6 separate regions of the Homo sapiens genome follow, and regions 1, 2, 3, 4 and 6 are each linked to region 5. The links are contacts of gene promoters, found by promoter capture Hi-C in blood cells and fetal thymus (Javierre and others, 2016). All regions are on one chromosome and are shown on one strand. Each heading gives the region's core, a stretch centred on a gene start or on the middle of the fragment in contact. The rest is flanking DNA. Distances are from core to core; before and after follow the strand shown.

Region 1 (2,700 bases), core at 201-2,700, 130 kb after region 5:
CCGGGTGTGGTCTCTGCTGTATCCCCCCAGCACCCCACTGCCAGTCCTGGAGCCCACCACTCTGCTCACTTATGAGCACTCTGCACTCAACTCCTGCCCACACCCAGTGGACTTCTGTGCCCCACACCCCCGACCTCCTGACCCCCCATCCTGATCCTCCTCCAGCTTCCCCTCAACTCAGCCTCTCTCGGGACACTCCCTCTGCACTTACCTCGGAATCCCCGCCCCTGGCTTTCCTGCACCCCTCCCGCCCCTGACTCCCCCACGTCCTCCCCACCCCCCGCACCCCCACCTGGGCTCTGTCATGCCTGTAGCTCCCTGCTCAGTGTCCTCAACTCTCCAATCCACCTGCTGCCTGTGACCTTACTGGGAAGGAGCTGAGCCATGGAGGAGCCCAGGGGCCCCCCTTGTACCTGCCCTGCCTCCAGCATGGCCCAGGAGCATCCCCAGCCCGGTGCCACCAGGAAGCCTTGCTCCCCAGGCCCCCTCGGAGCCCGCACCCAAGCCCCCTGCCAACAGGGGCCACTTCGCCTCCCTCCCCTCCCATCTCATCCTTGGCAGGGGCCCTTGCCTCACTCCCCTTACAGAGGAAGGGGGACAGAAGCCCACAGCGGTCTCCTAGGTGTCCTGCAAGAAACCCGCCCACTTGCTGCGGGGCGAGGCCCCAGGCTGCAGATCCTGGCGCCACAGGGTCCTGCCCTGGTGGTGATGCCCTCCCGACGCATCCTCCCCAGAGTCCACACCTGGATCCCCAGAACCTGCGAGTATGGACCTTCTGTGGCAAAGGGGACTTAGCAGGTTTGACTAACAGAAGGACCCGAGGTGGGAGATGGCCCCGGATGGCCCCGGATGACCCGGGGGGGCCCTAAATTGTGGTCACAAGGACCTCAGAAGAGGGAGCAGGAGGGTGGAGACGCGAGGACGGAGGCAGAGTCGGGGGAGGACGGAGGGGCGCTCTGCTGGCCTTGAAGGTGAGGAGGGGGCGGGGGCCGCCTCCGGAAGCTGGAGAAGACAAGGAATGGATCTTCCCCTGGAGCCCCCAGAAGGAGCCGCCCTGTGACCCTTGACCTTCACCCGGTGGGATGCGTTTTGGACACCCGTCCCCCAGGGCTGGAAGGCCATGGCCGTGCTGTTCCCAGCTGCTGGGTTGGCAGTGGTTTGTCTTGGCAGCCCTGGGGAGCTGACACTGGTGCTCTCACCCCACATGCCCTCTGGCCCCGCTACAGGGCATCTGCAGGGGCCTCTGCCACTATGCTCAGCAGGGTCTTTGAAGCCTCCACACTGCCAAAGCCAGAGGTGGCTTTTCAGAGCTCTCCACTGTGGCTCTCAGGCCACCTGGCCACACGGAGTCCTCTCATTCCCCCTCCTGGAGCCCCTCCCCAAATCAAGCTCCTCCTCCTCCTCCTGCACCTGCTTCCATGGGGAACGAAGCCATCCTCTGCACAGCCACCACTCTGGACAACAGCCAAAGGCCCTCGGACCAGTCTCCTCCTCCCCCGGCCCCAGGCAGCCACGGTGACCTCCCAGAGGGGCATCTGACCACCTGCCCTGCCCAACCCCTCCGAGACTTCCAGTGGCCCCAGGGGATGTGCCAAGCACAGGCCAAGGGAGCTGCCCCCAGGGCCACAACGCCTCTTCTGGCCTCGGTCTCCTCCTGCCAGGACAGCTTCCTTTCTCCTGCCTTGGATCTTCGGGTTTCTGGGGAGTGTCGTGTCCTCGGGGAGGCTGTCCTCTGCCTCTTGGCATGCCTGTCCTAACTTCTTGTGACATCAGGCCTGCCCCGAATCACCTGTTCGAGCCACCCCAGTGCACAGCAGGAACTGGTAAAGTGCCTGGGCTGCTTCTGCCTTTTCTCCCTTTCCATCTCGGAGGGACAGCAGGCCTCACTTGCCCTGTCCTCAGCTCCACGTGTGGGCAGTGGCCTTGTGGTCATAGACAGCATGGAATGTTCCTGAATAGCCTCAGTGACACTGGTTTTTCCTTTTTTTAAAAAAAAAAAAATTGAACCGAGCCAGGCATGGTAGTGTGAACCTGTAGTCCCAGCTACTCAGCAGGCCGAGGTGGGGGAATTGCTTGGGGCCAGGAGTTCAAGTCCAGCCTGAGCCACATCATGAGACCCTATCTCTAAATAAAATTTGTTTAAAATGGAACTGAAATTCACAGAACATTAAACACTTCACAGTGCACACTGAGCGGCATTCAGTACATTCATACTGCTGTGCGGCCACCAGCACTGCCTGCTTCCAGAATGCCTTCTTCACCCCAAACGGAAAGGAAAGCCGGCACCCATTAGTCAGCATTCTTCATTCTCCCGCCCTCAGCCCCACCAGTCCGCAGCTGCTTTTCCGTCTCATGGATTTACCTGTTCTGGACATTTTCTTTTTTCTTTCTTGCTTTTTGTCTCCCTCCCTCCCTTTCTCTGCCTTGCCTTGCCTTGCTTTGCCTTTGCCTTTGCCTTTGCCTTTCTTGATGGAGTCTTACTCTGTCACCCAGGCTGGAATGCAGTGTCAAGATCTCAGCTCACCGCAACCTCTCCCTCCCGTGTGCAAGCGATTCTCGTGCCTCAGCCTCCCGAGAAGCTGGGATTACAAGCACACACCACCACGGCTGGCTTTTAGTAGAGACAGGGTTTCACCATGTTGTCCAGGCTGGTCTCGAACTCTTGACATCACGTGATCTGCCTGCCTCGGCCTCCCAAAG
Region 2 (2,700 bases), core at 20-2,519, 220 kb before region 5:
GCAGGAGAATCGCTTGAACCCAGGAGGCGGAGGTTGCAATGAGCCAAGATCGCACCACTGCACTCCAGCCTGGCGAGAAAGCAAGACTCCGTCTCAAAAAAAAAAAACAAAAAAAAATCACTAAAAGCTGTGGAACAAGGAGGACACCTTAACTTATATGAAAATTGATCATCTGGGCCAGTTCTGAAGCTTGTCTCAATCCAGATTTGTCAGAAACTGGATCCAGTGAGCACCATCGCCTGCCCCAGACCCAATCAGCCAAGCATGGGGAGAGCAAAGAATTTCGAAGTTTAAAGTGTGCCATGAAGAACTGCTTTGTGTTGGATAAATAAGTTTAAATTATTTGAAATCTGGATTTTTATTTCTTTCTTTGTGTTTTGTGTGGGTTTTCTTGAGACAGGGTCTTGCTATGTTGTCCAGGCTGGAGTGCAGTGGCACCATCTCTGCTTGCTGTAGCCTTGACCTCCTGGGCTCAGGTGATCCTCCTGCCTCAGCCTCCTGAGTAGCTGGGACCACAGGCACGCGCAACCATGCCTGGCTAATTTTTAAAATTTTTTTAGAGACAAGGTCTCACTACATTGCCCAGGCTGGTCTCAAACTCCTGGGCTCAAGCAATCCTCCTCCCACCTCAGCCTCCCAAAGTGCTGGGATTGCAGGGGTGAGCCACAGCACCCAGCCCTCAGAAATCTTTTGTAATGCCCAGTGATGTTTGTAATGTGTTGATAACAGACACCAAGTCAGGGTCTCTCGTTCCTGAACACAAGTGGGACAGAGTCCCAGCCTTCTTGTGGCAGATGTCACCGTGAGGCTGGGCCCTGGACAACAGTGAGTGAGATAAGCCGGGGAGCTTCGACCGGGCCAGGCTGTCGGGGCCTCAGCCCGAGTGTGACCCAGGGCAAGCCAGGGTCAGTCTGCGATGAGCGTCAAGGTTCAGTGTGGACCTGCACTCAGGGCCTGGGACTGTGGGAGACACGTCCGTCGGGGACGAGGCCGAAACAAACAGCCCCAAGCGCTCAGTGGCTTCAGCAGCAAAGGGTTGTCTCCTGCTTGGGCTTTGGTGGGGAGGTGGGATCCACTCCAGAGCTCACTCAGGGCCCAGGCTGAGGCAGCCCCACCTTCCTTAGCCCACCCCGTGCAACCGCAGCCTCTCCGGACGCTGCAACAGGGAGATGCTGCTGGGCCATGGTCAGCCGGGAGGTGACACAAAGGTGGCGCAGGAGGTGATGCGGGAGGTGACACAGAGCTGATGCAGGTGATGCGGGAGGTGACACAGAGCTGATGCAGGTGATGCGGGAGGTGACACAGAGCTGATGCAGGTGATGTGGGAGGTGACACAGAGCTGATGCAGGGGATGTGGGAGGTGACACAGCTGATGCAGGTGATGTGGGAGGTGACACAGCTGATGCAGGAGGTGACATGGAGGTGACACACAGATGACACGGGAGGTGACGTGGGAGTTGATACGAACCCACTGGCCAGGCCCTCGCTGCCGGGGCAGGCAGAGGCAAGGGAGCAGATGAGTGTTCAGTGAGCAGAATCGGGCTCGGGTTCTGGTCAGGGGCATCAGCACAGCCTGGGGCTGGGGCAGCCTCAGCCTTTGGCCGCGCAGGGTCCTGTGGGGTCGGGGGGTCGGGGCACCACTGGCAGGTCCCGGTCTCACAGCCGGGTCCCGCGGCTCCCTCCTCAAAGGGACCCAGAGCCGGGCTCGGGAGCCCCCTTGTGGCCATCTGGCGACACTGCAGGCTCCGCCGGCGCGAAGGTCCAGAGGCTCCCGCATGCCCCAGCCAGGTAGGGTTCTCAGGCAGGTGAGCTTTGTGGGCAGCCTCACCTGCCAGGAATATGTGTGCCCCCTGCCTGCAGGCCAGCCTTGGCCACGGTCCAGTCCCAACATAATATCACTTGGTGAGGCCTACCCTGACCCAAGGCCTGCCTGAGTGGGGTCTCTCTGTGTGGCCCTGCCCCAACCTCCCTGCATCACACTCCACCCCACGCACCTGTGTGATACCTGTCTCCCTCCAGGCGTGGAGCCTCTCCTCCTAGGAGGCATCCCAGAGACACCCCGGGGGGCCGGGGTCACTCAGGTGCACCCCACAGGTGCAGGTTGCAGGTGGGAGAGCAGCACACAGCTGCTGTGTGGCTCCTGCAGTGGGCCCTGCCTCCCATGCTGTGGATTTGGCATCCGGTACACAGGCCCACTGCGCCTCACCATCCCCTCCAGGCCCACCAGCCGTTTCTGTGCAACTTCCCGCAGCAGCCTTGAAAGTGTTCACTGTGGGAACGCAACACGGACCAGCTCTCGAGGAAAGCACCCCCTGGGGCGGATACTCATGAGGGCGGGAGAAAGCTTTCCTCAAGGCTCACGCACTTTGAAACATGTTTCCGATGATCTCCACATTCAGCTTATTTCATAAGCAATGAGTAAAAGTGAGTCGGTCACCTTAGGTCACCTTCAGCCGGGCGAGTGCTGTGGGCCCGCAGGTGCTGCAGGGCAGTGGGAGTGCAGACAGAAAATGCAGACCCCCGGGCATTACTCACCTCTCCAGCTCTGGTCCGCTGTTGTACCACGGGTCTAATCAGGCTGTGTCTGTCTCCTTCTTGAACAGCCCAGAAAATTCATCTGAACAGCCTTCCTACAGCCGCTCCCCACACCAGGTGGCCAGGTGGGAGTTCCAGACCAGAGCTGTCTCCCGGGATGTTGAC
Region 3 (2,700 bases), core at 1-2,500, 240 kb after region 5:
CTGCACGTCGCTCCTTCCTGAGTCCTGGAAGCTGGCCCTGGATGTGGCACCTGTTGGCTCCAGCTGGCTCCAGGCCCTCAAGGAGTGTCACAGGGACTGTTCGGCCGGGGTTTGCCTGCTGCTGCTACCCCCCCAGGGACGAAAAAGGATGGTCAGTGGAGACCAGGGACCGCCGGGGGCAGGAGCAGATACAGGGCGAGTGGACACGCCCCAAGGCCCAGCTCCACAGGGGTTGGGGGGACAGCCAGGCTCGAGGCGGGTTCCCTAGGGAAGTGCATTCCAAAGGGGATCAGCCCCCCACGCTGTGAAGGGCAATGAGAAGGATGCAGCCCCCACCAGGCCCAGCCCTTCCTTGGGGCCCCAGGGGAGGGTCTCTGAGGAGGGTGAGCTTCGGGGCAGGGGCCCTGAGCTGCAGGTGGAGGGGTGTACTCTGCGGTTGAGGAGAATTTTCAGGGGCCAGCTCTGGGGTTCAGGGGGCCACATGATACCAAGCCCTTACCCCAGAGAGCCACCCACACCCCACACTGAGGGTGGACCCCCCAACCTTGGCCTCCCACTGCTGCAGGGTCTTCCTCCCCACCAGTTCCTAGAGAGGAGAGCTGGGAGTGACAGTCCCCAGAGAGGGGACAGCCAGGAGCCCAGCTCTGGGAAGCCCCCAGGGACCTGCTTCAATCTCTCCTGGACCCTCCAGGTAACAGATGGGTTCTCGGAGCATCCCCTGCCAGCCCAGAGCTTGAGACCACAGGGGAATAGCCCCTGCCCCGGGAGCATCGAGCAGCCCAGACTGCAGCCAAACCCCGCGCCAAGCAGAGAGGGCAAGAGAATGACAAGCATGGTCCTGGGGGGCCGTGGACGCATGGTCACCGCGGGAGCAGTGGCGGAGGTGGCTGTGAGTTGGACCCTGGCAGGGAGCAAGACCCAGAGGCTGGTGGAGGAAACAGGTAGAGGAAGGGGAGTTTATTAGGGGGGTGGTGGTGCCGGGGGCGTGGCAGGCTCCGAGGCCCAGCTGGACACAAGGACCCAGATTCGTCTGGCCAGGCCTGGGCAACCCAGCCTCGACCACACTAGGTATGGGCTGCCCAGAAGAGGAGCCACTCTGCCCAGGGTGGGCTGCAGAACCTGATGGGCCAGAGTCCTGTCCTGGGATTGTTCCAGAAATCAAGGCTGTAGCTTGAGACTGGGGGCTTCCCCAGGTCTTCCACCCTGAGGGGAGAGCAGCTGGCCGTGGACACCACCCTCAGGGAGCTGAGAGGCCAGAGGTGGAGAGAGGCTGGGGGCCGGCTCTGCAGCCCCCAGGCCCCCACTGCAGCCCCCAGGCCACCCTTGGCTGCCGGCTTAGGGCCCTTGGCTTGCTCAGCCTATCTTTAGCCACCATGGCCTCGTAGGGTGCCCTGCAGCCCCTTCTTGGCCCAGGCGAGCCCTGGAGCAGTTCTTCACTTGGACAGGTGCATGGTTTACGGTGAGGGATTCAGCTTGCCAGAACCCGCATGCCCCTTGGAAGCCCCTTTTTCTGCCCCCAGCAGCTCCACTCCCACCACCGCACCCACCCCAGCAGCTAGTCTAAAGCTCTCTGTCTCCAGGGATGCTCCCAGCCCCCCTCCAGCAGATGGCCTTTCTGGAAACACCCTTAGGCTGAGCCTCTGTCCACTCCACTGGTGTAACCAACAACAGGGAGCTCCCAAGGACCCCACAAAAAGGCAGACATTGTAAGGGGGAAACTGAGGCCCAAAGTGTCCGGCAGCTTGCCCAGATCCCACGGGCAGGGAGCAGGAGCCGGGATTGGGCTCATTCCTTCAGCTGGCAACCGTCCATTTGTAGGGGCAGAGGCGGCAGGGACATAGCCTCCTGCTTGGAGCTGGGAAGCGGGGGCGGTGAGGGGGACACAGAGGAAGACTACCCAGCTCCACCCAGGCCTGCCTGTGGGGGCACTTCCTGCGGGATGCGGGGACTCTGATGAGACCCAAAGGAGGAATGAGAAATGTGGGCAGAGCTGGAGCCGGCCAGGGATGGGATGATCCCACAGGTGTGAGAGCAAGGGAGTGCCCTGTCCGCACCTCTGCTTTCTGGTGTCCCCACCATACCTTTCTGTTACGTCCCTTCTCTCCTTCTGAGAGGCTGTCCCATCCCAGCTGCACACCATTCTCATTGAAGTGAAAAGGCTGCCTCCCGACCCCAGCTGCCCAGGGCAGTCATCCACACCCTGGCTCTGGGCCATCCGCCCCTCTCGTGGTTCCTACGGTCCGTGTCCTCTGTGGCACCTCAAGTGCCCCCTGCCTGCCCCAGGGACAGCCACTCACTGGGCTCAGAGCCCCCTGACACACACACAGCAGGGGGCTTCGAGAGTCCAGGGATGCCTCCTGGAGTCACGGCTCTGCCAAGCTCCCCAAAGTTGACTTGGTGGGGGAGCTGGCATCCTGACTACATGGCCGTGTTGACAGGACCAGCGAGCAGCCTCCTGGTATCTGCTGTTAATCCTCATGACTGCTCTCAAACCTCTCAACTCTACTGAAGACACAGACACAGTCATGCCCACAGCTCCACAGAGAGTTCCTACCTAAACACCCGTGCAACCAGCACGTGATGAAGACACAGATATCACCAAGAACGGCTTGATGCCTCCTACAGAAGTGTCCATTGCATGTTGGAAGTTCCTGAGCTGAACAGCAAGGTTGTTTGCCATCTTCATCTCCCTAGGCAAGA
Region 4 (2,700 bases), core at 46-2,545, 190 kb after region 5:
TTCACATACCATAAAATACACTCTTATCTACGGCCATACCACCCTGAACGCGCCTGATCCCGTCTGATAAAATGCACTCATTTCTGGCATACAATTCAATTACTTTTCACAAATGGAGAGTCATGCAATGGTAACGACGCTAAGCTTAGAACACCTCCGTCACCCCAAAAGGAGGCTGCACACCCTTGCAGTCACTCCCTGTTCCCACCCATGGTCCCCGGGGACTGAACCATTCCATTCATTTCCTGTCTCTGTAGATTTGCCTTTTCCAGACATTTTGTATCAGTGGGATCACAAGATCTGTGGTCTTTTGTGTCTGATGGCTTCCACTCAGCATAATGTGATGTTATTCCATGTATCAGAACTTTGTTCCTTTTTATTGCCATATCATATCCCACTGCATGAATAGACCACACTGTTTCTCCATTCACCAGTGGATAGACACTTGGGTTATTTCCAGTTTGGAGGCTACTATGAATAAAGCTGCTATAAATATTCATGTACAAGTTTCTATGTGCAGATATGTTTCCATTTCTCTTGGGTGGATACCTAGGAGTGGGATTGCTGGGCCATATGGTGACTCTATGTTTAACAATCCAAGAACCTGCCAAACTGTCTCCAAAGCAGTTGCTGCACCATTTTCCATTCCTGTTACCAATGCGCGAGGGTTCCAGCTTCTCCACAGCCTCTCCAACTCTTATCCGTCTTTCTGATTACAGGCACCCCAGGGTGTGCCTAGTGGTATCTTGTGGTTATAATTTGCATTTCTCTATTAACTAATGTTGCCAAGCATTTCTGAAAGCATCTGAATATGTCCTTTGGAGAAATAGCTCTTCAAATCTTTCAGCCATTTTAAATTGGGATGTTTGTCTTCTTACTTAGTTGTATGATACAGGCAACACATATTGTTAATATAAGTCCTTTAGGGAATATATAAGATTTGAGTGTTTTCTTGCATTCTCTGGGCTGGCTCCTTGTTGAAAAATCGATTGACCATAAATGTAAAAGATTACTTATGGATTTTCAGTTCTTTTCCGTTTATCTGTATGTCTATCATATTTCTAGTACCACATTGTCTTGATTACTGTGGCTTTGTAGTAAGTTTTGAAATTAGGACGTGTGAGTCTTCCAGCTTTGACCTTTTTTAAAGATTATATTGGCTATTTGGGGTACTTTATTGGCATGCCAATTTCTAGGAAAGCAAACAAAACAAAACAAAATAAAGCCAGCTGGAATTTTGGTAAGGACCACAATCAATCTGTAGATGAATGTGGGAATTATCGCTATCTTAACCGTGTTGAGTTGCCCAATCCATGAACATGGGATGTCTCTCCATTTAGATCTTCTTTCAACAACATTTTGTAATTTTCAGTGGACAGGACTGCACTTGCTCAAGGGGTCTTGAGATCCAGTCCTGGGACTGTTACGTGACGTGTCTAACACACTCTGTGGACACAGTTCTGGGGTCCACGCACCAGATACAAGACATGGGGAAAGAGACTACCCCTGTTGGTAGGAAGCATTGCAAGGCCACGTGGTACAGAGTGTGGATCCGGGGATGGTGAAGAAATGTGGCCATTGCTCTCACCTTTTTAGCACAGGTGTGAATGATGACTATGAGGAATGAGGATTGGGCAGCTGCTGATGCCTGCACTGGGGAACTTAATGAAAGTCAGTGCCAATCCTATTGCCAAACGTCTTCATTTACAAATGACCAAAAATGGAGCATCTATCGTGGCCCTAACCACTTACCTCGTGTAGCCTCAGCACTGACTTAGTTGAAAGTCACCCCAAATTGGCCTTGGAGGTTGCAGAAGTCCAAGGAAAGCTGAATCTAGAGCCTCACCAGGTCATGTATGTGAAAGTTTGCATCATCTGGAGAAGAATAGGGTCCTGAGAATCAGAATGAGAATATTACCTGGGTTGGAATGAGTCTGATGAACTTGAACTTCCAACCGCCCTCCAGACTCCCTGGCTAGCAAAGTAGCCTCTCCTCCCCTGTGTAGACTGTGTCTACACTGGCCTTCCTTTGTAGACTGGCCTTCCTTTGCTTGACAGGTGAGTGGTACAGATTTTTAACCTTGCCCAACAGGAAGTCCGGTCTTTGCCTTCAGCTCCTGGGTGCTAATCTCCAGGTCCTTAGGATGTCCAGCCTAATAAGAGGGTCTTTGTTTCTGTGGAGGTTTTGGGCCACACCAGAGAGTCTACGCTTACAATGTGATTTATGGTGGGAGTCTCAGGTCACATGGGATTGCCTAATGTCCAGAGGGACCAGAGACTGAGGTTGGCCACAAAGGCAATCAACCATGGAGTCCAATAAAGACTTTGGACACTGAGGCTCAAGTGAGCTTCCCTGCTTGGCCATACTCCATGCAGACTGTCACACATCAATACCAAGAAGTCACACCATCTACAGCTCTGTAGGGAGAGGACACCTAGAAGCTTGCACATGGTGTCTGCTGGCCCCTGACCCCAGTGTCTCTTCCTTTGGCTGCTTTTAATCCGTATCTTTTTGCTGTAATCAACCATAAACACGAGTATAACAGCTTTCAGTGAGTTCTGTGGGCCCTTCTGGTAAATTGTTGAACCACAGAGTGATCTTGGGAACCCTCCAAACCTACAGTGGGTGTCAGAAGTAAGGGCAGTCTTGCAGAATGCACCCCCTAACTTCATGCCTGCCCTGTAATCACCTCCCCCAAG
Region 5 (2,700 bases), core at 116-2,615:
GCCCCACTGTCCAGCGGCTCTGCAACTCCAACACCACGCTCAGAGATGCAGGCTGTGGGAGCCACAGGAAAGCACGGAGAGGCCCACCTGCAGCTGACTAGGGGTGGAACAACTCAATGCCACGTGGGGTCCCCTCCAGGCATACTGGCCACTTCCAGTGCCTGGAAGGTCCGCTCACCCTCCCATCTCCCCAGGGAGAACTCTCACTACCCCCAACCGCCTCCTCTTCTCGCCTGCTGTCTATTCTAGAACCAGAACTTTTCCGGAGAGCGTGTCTCTCTCCTCCTTAGCCTGGGAGCTTCCTGAGCAGGAACTACCAAGTCACGAAGAAATTACAAAAGTTTCAAACTGAGCAGGAGACTCAGGGAAGCTGCAAGTCCAAGGAAGGCTGGGCTATGGCCGGAGGGTAAACCCTGTCCAATCGTTACCGCTGGGCGACCGGGCGCCCCCCTACCAAGTGCAGAACAGCCAGTCTTCCGCAATGGCAAGATCAACTGGGAGGCGCAAATAGCAGTACTGGCTTGGCGACGCCTCTAAATGAGAGACAGCGCCAACCAGGTACCCGCGAGGACGACCCCGCCCCGCAGGACAGGGCATCTCCACCGCGCGCTGGACGGAGGATACAACCGAGTCCTGCGCGCCCCGTGCGCCGGGGGTCGCTCCCAGGCCGAGGTCTGACAGTGTCGCCGAACGCGAAAGGAAGCGTGTGGTACCCGAGAGAGGAAGCACCCTCGTCACCCCGGCCGGCACCGCATTGAGGCAGGTGTGCAGGTGCGGTTGCGGCGAGCCAGGTGAGCGCCGCCCGGGAGCCCCAAGGTCCCGCCGGGTCTGAGCAGCACCGGGTCCTCGGAAGCTGAGCGCGGCCCCCGGTGCTCGGGACCTGGGGGGCTGGGGCCGCGCTTGCCGGAGCTGCGGGGGGGCGGCGGCTGCACGCGTCGAACCGGCGGGCGGGGGCGCGGGGGGCGACCTGGGCTCCGCTGGGGGACCCGGGCCGGGGATGGGGCGCGCAGAGGCCGCGGCCAGGACACCCCCAGCAGGTGCCCGGCGGGAACAAAGCGCGGCGGGCGGCGCGTACCTGGGCACGCAGCTGGGGCTGGAGCCGTCCACCTCCCAGGTGGCGAACAGGTTCATGGGCACGGGCGTGTTGAGCGCGCCGGGCGCGCCGGGGAGGCCGAGGCGGCCTCGCTCGGCCATGGCGCCGGCCCCGCCGCTCCCTCGGCGGCCTGGGGCTGCGGCCGGGCCGCGGACGCGCGGCGGGCGGGCCGGGCGCGCGGAGGGCGGCGGCGCGGTCACATGGCTGCCGGGCGGCGGAGGGGACGGGCCGGGCCCCGGCGTCGGACAGGCCCGCGGGCGGCGACGAGCTGCGGCCGCTCCGCCCCGCCCCGCCCGGCGCCCCGCCCGCGCCCCGCGCGCCCCCGGCCGCCCCGCGCGCGCCCGGCGCCCTCCGACCCGCGCCGGCGCCGCCGATTGGCTGGGCGGGGCGCCAGCTCGCCGCCTCGGGTCCAATCGCCGCCGGCGCAGCGCGCGCCGGAAGTGAGGTGCGCGCGCGCTTCCTCCGGCGGCGCCTCACGGGGCGTCCCCGCCCGCCGGTGCGCGAGAGCGCGCACTCACGCGCCTGCGCACAGACCCCGCCCGGGGCGCCCCGCCCCGCCCCCCGGGAGCCGCGGGCAAGGGCCGGGAGAGTCGTGGGGGTCCACCGGGTCCCGGCCAGCTTCAGGCGCCGCCCCCTAAGGAAAGCTCATCGTCGCCCTGGCGATGCCCACCTCCCCACGCGCGGATTCCCCGGCCTCGACACTTTCCCGCCTCCACCCCGCCATGCCCCGAGTCTCCCCGCCCCCCTGCCCTCGCCGCCCCTTGTCTCCTGCCGACCCCCGCTGGGTTGGCCCGGCTGTGCGGGCCCCGCCCGTCCCCGAGCCCCTCCCTCGCGCCCCCCTGCGTGGGTTCCCCGGGACGCAGGGAGGTGGCAAGGAGGTGGCCGGGCCTGGCGGCGGTCGCGGGGACTCGAAGCCACTCGGGGCGCCAGGCTGCCGAGCTTAGCCTCCAGGGCTCCAGATGACCCCGGGCGCCCTCTTTGCGTCCCAGCATCCTTATTCAGCGCCGCTTTTCAGCGTTGTGCTCAGGACAATGGAGAACAAATGTCTGGGGCCAAGGCTGGCTCCTGGCCCTGGGGTTAACAGTGAACTTGGGGACCCAAGCAAAGAGGAGGCAATGGCTAGAGCCGCTGGGGCCCGACGTGTAGGCTCTGGGGCTCAGGGAGGGTGCTTCCCCCATCTGTTTGGCAGCGGCTGTGGTCCAGCACCAGATGCCAAGCCGAGATTTAGGAAACGGTTTTCTGGCCTCTCTTCTGTTTCCTTGTTTCACAGTTAGTTTACAGTTGCTTTTCTCTTCGCCCTGTGTCTTGTCTACAAGTAGTTTTACTGAAACAAATCCAGCCCGAGCAAATTGACCTGGAGCTGGTTTCTTTCCTGGCCCACGGGGCTTGCCACCCCAGTGCCCCGTCAGCTCCTTCTGCAAAGGCCCTCATGCCGCTGCTTCCTCCGTTGAGAGAGCTCAGCCTCCAGCTGTAACTCCTGTATCTAGAACTGCAAACAGCTGCGACTGCTTAAAGTCAGGGTCCCACTTCGGAGAGAACAAGGGACTCTGTGTTTCCCACGCGCCCCTGGCTCCTCTAAGGTGGTACACTGAGAGCCATGAGGGTCT
Region 6 (2,700 bases), core at 87-2,586, 160 kb before region 5:
ACCGTCTCCCACCCTAAGCCTTACAGAGACAGCCCTCGCTGGGACAGAGACTGAGGGCTGAGCGGGCTCCAGGAGAGGCAGCCGGAAGCCCCTCGGCTCCCAGCCACGCCAGAAGCACTCCAGGCCAAATCCGGTCCCTCCCCTCTGGGACGGGCAAAATACAACCTCCCCTCAACCCCCTCCAGCCTGTGAGCCGGGGAAGCCCAGTGGCGGCCTTCCCTGCAGCCTGGCCGCATTCTGGGTATGGGGCGACCAGGGCAGGCGCCCTGTTGGTCCCGGCCCTCCTCTCTGCTTCACTAAGTCTGCCCCCCTTCGTGCAGCAGCTGGTGGGTAGGTGGGCAGGGACCTTACCACCCTGGAGAAAGCTGGGCAGCGAATCAGCCAGGAGGAAGGGGGTAGGAAGGGCGCACCCAGGCCCAGAGAGTGAGTAAGCCCAGACGGGGGGAGCGCGCCTGCCGGAGGGGCTAGACCGAGGGCCGCCTTGCGAGACATCCCTCTTCCCGCCACCACCTGCATCCTGTCCAGGGCTGTTCTGACCTTGAGGAGGCAGGGATCCTGGACACCTGGGCTGCTTGAGCACAAGGTCCCTCTCACGTTCGCGGGAACTCGCGTGTCACACCCGCCCCCACCCTACCCCCGTGTGAAACTCCTGGGGGAACTGGCGCCAAGGGAATGCGTCGGGACAAGCAGGAGGCAGAGGCCAAGGTCGCCCCCGCTTGGACTGAATCCCGACAGAGTCCAAACCTGGCCCAGCCCAGCTCAGCGGAGCCCGGAGTGGGAGCTGGGGGTCACTGTTCCCGGCCACTTGTTCCCGGGGGAAGCGGGTGTAGGGGGTCCAGGAGAAAGGGCCCAGGCCCACGGGAGCGCGCGGGACGCACCCGGGGCGTACAGCCACGCCCTGCCCCGCCCCGCCCGGCGCCGTCCGAGGAACCGGGATGCGTCCGCGGATCCCCGAGCGCTCCCCCAAACACTGGCCTCATCCCGGGGCACCACAAGCCCCGCCCGGGTGGTCCCTGCCCCGCCCCCACAAGCCGCTTCGGGGTTCGGGCGTGACCGCCCCCGCTTTCGCGCAGCCCCACCCTTTGGCTTTAGCCGCTTGGGCAGCGCGGCCAGCCAGCCTCCGGGACGCGCATCCTCGGTCCGGGGCCGGGGCCGGGCGCACCCCGAGTTACGCCGCGGCTCTGCGGCGCGGGACTGGCCGCGAAGGGCGGCGGGATGCACCGAGCGGGCCGGGAGCGGGCACGCACTCACCGAAGTACACGGTCTTGTCGCACTTGGGGCATTTGGAGGCCATGGTCGGTGCGCCCGGTCGGCCCGCGCCCTCCGCCCGTTCTCCTCCGGGCCGCCGCCGCCCGCGCCCAGCCCCGCCTGCCCGGCTGTCCGCGCGCCCATTGGCTCCGCGGCCGGGGCGGGGCCTCGATAACCCGTCCCCCGGGCTGGGGGCCGCCTGGGGGCGCCGCGGGGGCGGGGCGCACCTGCCGGGGGTGGCGGGTGCGGGGCAGCCGGGCCAGGCCTGGCGCCCCCGGGCCCCTCGCGCCGGAGGTGGCGTCTACAGGGGCCCGCCCGGGCGACCGCGGCGCCGCCCGCGCCCCGGCTGTTTCCATGGCGACGTCGGGGCCGCCTGGCCGGGCCGTCCCCGGGGCGGCGGGCAGGGTGCGGGGAGCCTGGCCCTCGGCTCTCGGGGAGCCCTAGTGACTTGGGCCTAGGGGTCCAACACTCCCGGCCCTGGGCGCCCAGGCTGCGCTCCGCCGCGGGAAGGGGTCGCAGGCTCCGGGAGAACCCCACCCCCACCCCGCCGCGCGCGGCGCCTGTCCCGCTTCCCTTTGTTGCTCGGTTTCCATAGCAACAGCCGCGCCGCGGGAGCGGAGTCAGATTCCCGGCGGGCACGGCCCCCAGCCCTGTCCGGGTCTCCATGTCCCGCTCCGCCCCCGCCCGCGCCCCGCCCCAACACTGTCTGTGGTGCTGAAGGCTCCTTGGGTGGAGGGCAGGGCTCAGGAAGGAAGGCGCCGCCACCTCCAGAAACAGCTCGAGAAGCTGCTGGTAGGGGGTGTGGGGAGGTCTGCGTCTGCCTCCCAGGCAGGGAAGGGGCGGCGGGCACCAGCGCCGAGGGATCCGCGCTTAAGGCGTCCACCCCAAGCACTTCCACCCAGGGGGCGGCCGGGGAGGCGGTGAGGAGTTAGGAAGGGAAGGAGGGGAAGGAGTGGGCGTGCCCTCTGTGCCCCGGGCTGGGGCTGACACTCCAGTCCCTTCTCCCGCACCGCCCAGGACCAGCTGCGTGCCTGGGGGCCCAGGGCCTGACCTCGAGGGGTCAGGCGGGAGATTGAGGGGTCATGCCAGTCACCGCACCCCCACACCCCCACTCTGGCCTCCTCCCAACCAGGGCGTGCCTGACCACGCCTCACCACAGTGCCTCCGCCCTAGAGCCCCGTAGAGCCTGGCCCCAGGTGGGGAACCTCCGCACCCACGGGCTTCCTGGTGCTCTGTCCCCATGGGCCCTTCTCTGAGCCTTCTGGCCCCAGCTGAGCGTCGGCCTGGGAGACAGGCAGATCCCAGAAGCCCAGTGATCAGGCCCTATGGGGGCAGCTGACTCTGGACACCCTTCCCCCTGTGTCTTGGAGGCTGTGGGCTGGACACGGAGACCTACCTGTTCCCTCTGCCTGGTGCACCAGGCATGTTTGTGAGCCAACCAGAGGCCCTCGG

What was found. Contacts are between HindIII fragments. The CHiCAGO score rates a contact against its expected background, and 5 or more counts as called.
Region 1: a contact is called between a fragment that was not itself captured here and the fragment with the promoter of PACS2 in region 5, in 3 of 17 cell types (naive CD4 T cells, non-activated CD4 T cells and total CD8 T cells). The highest score is 6.6, in naive CD4 T cells.
Region 2: a contact is called between a fragment that was not itself captured here and the fragment with the promoter of PACS2 in region 5, in 1 of 17 cell types (non-activated CD4 T cells). The highest score is 5.1, in non-activated CD4 T cells.
Region 3: a contact is called between a fragment that was not itself captured here and the fragment with the promoter of PACS2 in region 5, in 8 of 17 cell types (naive CD4 T cells, monocytes, endothelial precursors and 5 more). The highest score is 7.8, in naive CD4 T cells.
Region 4: a contact is called between a fragment that was not itself captured here and the fragment with the promoter of PACS2 in region 5, in 1 of 17 cell types (endothelial precursors). The highest score is 6.2, in endothelial precursors.
Region 6: the fragment with the promoter of CRIP2 here is called in contact with the fragment with the promoter of PACS2 in region 5 in 5 of 17 cell types (monocytes, naive CD8 T cells, neutrophils and 2 more); the score reaches 9.5 in monocytes.

The regions. Positions count from the first base shown.
Region 1 is chr14:105,183,471-105,186,170 of GRCh38, reverse strand. No RefSeq gene overlaps it. Among named protein-coding and RNA genes, the nearest start is that of NUDT14, 3.5 kb to the right of the region's middle. The HindIII fragment of the contact is 4,988 bases long and covers 1-2,700 here.
Region 2 is chr14:105,537,062-105,539,761 of GRCh38, reverse strand. It overlaps the pseudogene ATP5MC1P1. Among named protein-coding and RNA genes, the nearest start is that of TMEM121, 12 kb to the right of the region's middle. The HindIII fragment of the contact is 2,155 bases long and covers 192-2,346 here.
Region 3 is chr14:105,072,266-105,074,965 of GRCh38, reverse strand. No RefSeq gene overlaps it. Among named protein-coding and RNA genes, the nearest start is that of GPR132, 8.2 kb to the right of the region's middle. The HindIII fragment of the contact is 5,655 bases long and covers 1-2,700 here.
Region 4 is chr14:105,121,112-105,123,811 of GRCh38, reverse strand. No RefSeq gene overlaps it. Among named protein-coding and RNA genes, the nearest start is that of LINC02298, 28 kb to the right of the region's middle. The HindIII fragment of the contact is 2,298 bases long and covers 147-2,444 here.
Region 5 is chr14:105,313,413-105,316,112 of GRCh38, reverse strand. It overlaps PACS2 (phosphofurin acidic cluster sorting protein 2), which reads right to left and starts at 1,365. Exons shown (of 25, transcript NM_001100913.3): 1 at 1,076-1,365. The coding sequence starts at 1,194. It also overlaps a transcript of BRF1 not described here. RefSeq lists silencers at 744-823, 1,054-1,143, 1,284-1,813, 1,914-2,003 and an enhancer at 348-999. The HindIII fragment of the contact is 4,816 bases long and covers 1-2,700 here.
Region 6 is chr14:105,473,457-105,476,156 of GRCh38, reverse strand. It overlaps CRIP2 (cysteine rich protein 2), which reads right to left and starts at 1,336. Exons shown (of 8, transcript NM_001312.4): 1 at 1,252-1,336. The coding sequence starts at 1,294. RefSeq lists silencers at 1,314-1,423, 1,604-1,673, 1,944-2,093, 2,184-2,273, 2,284-2,333 and an enhancer at 2,362-2,700. The HindIII fragment of the contact is 47,861 bases long and covers 1-2,700 here.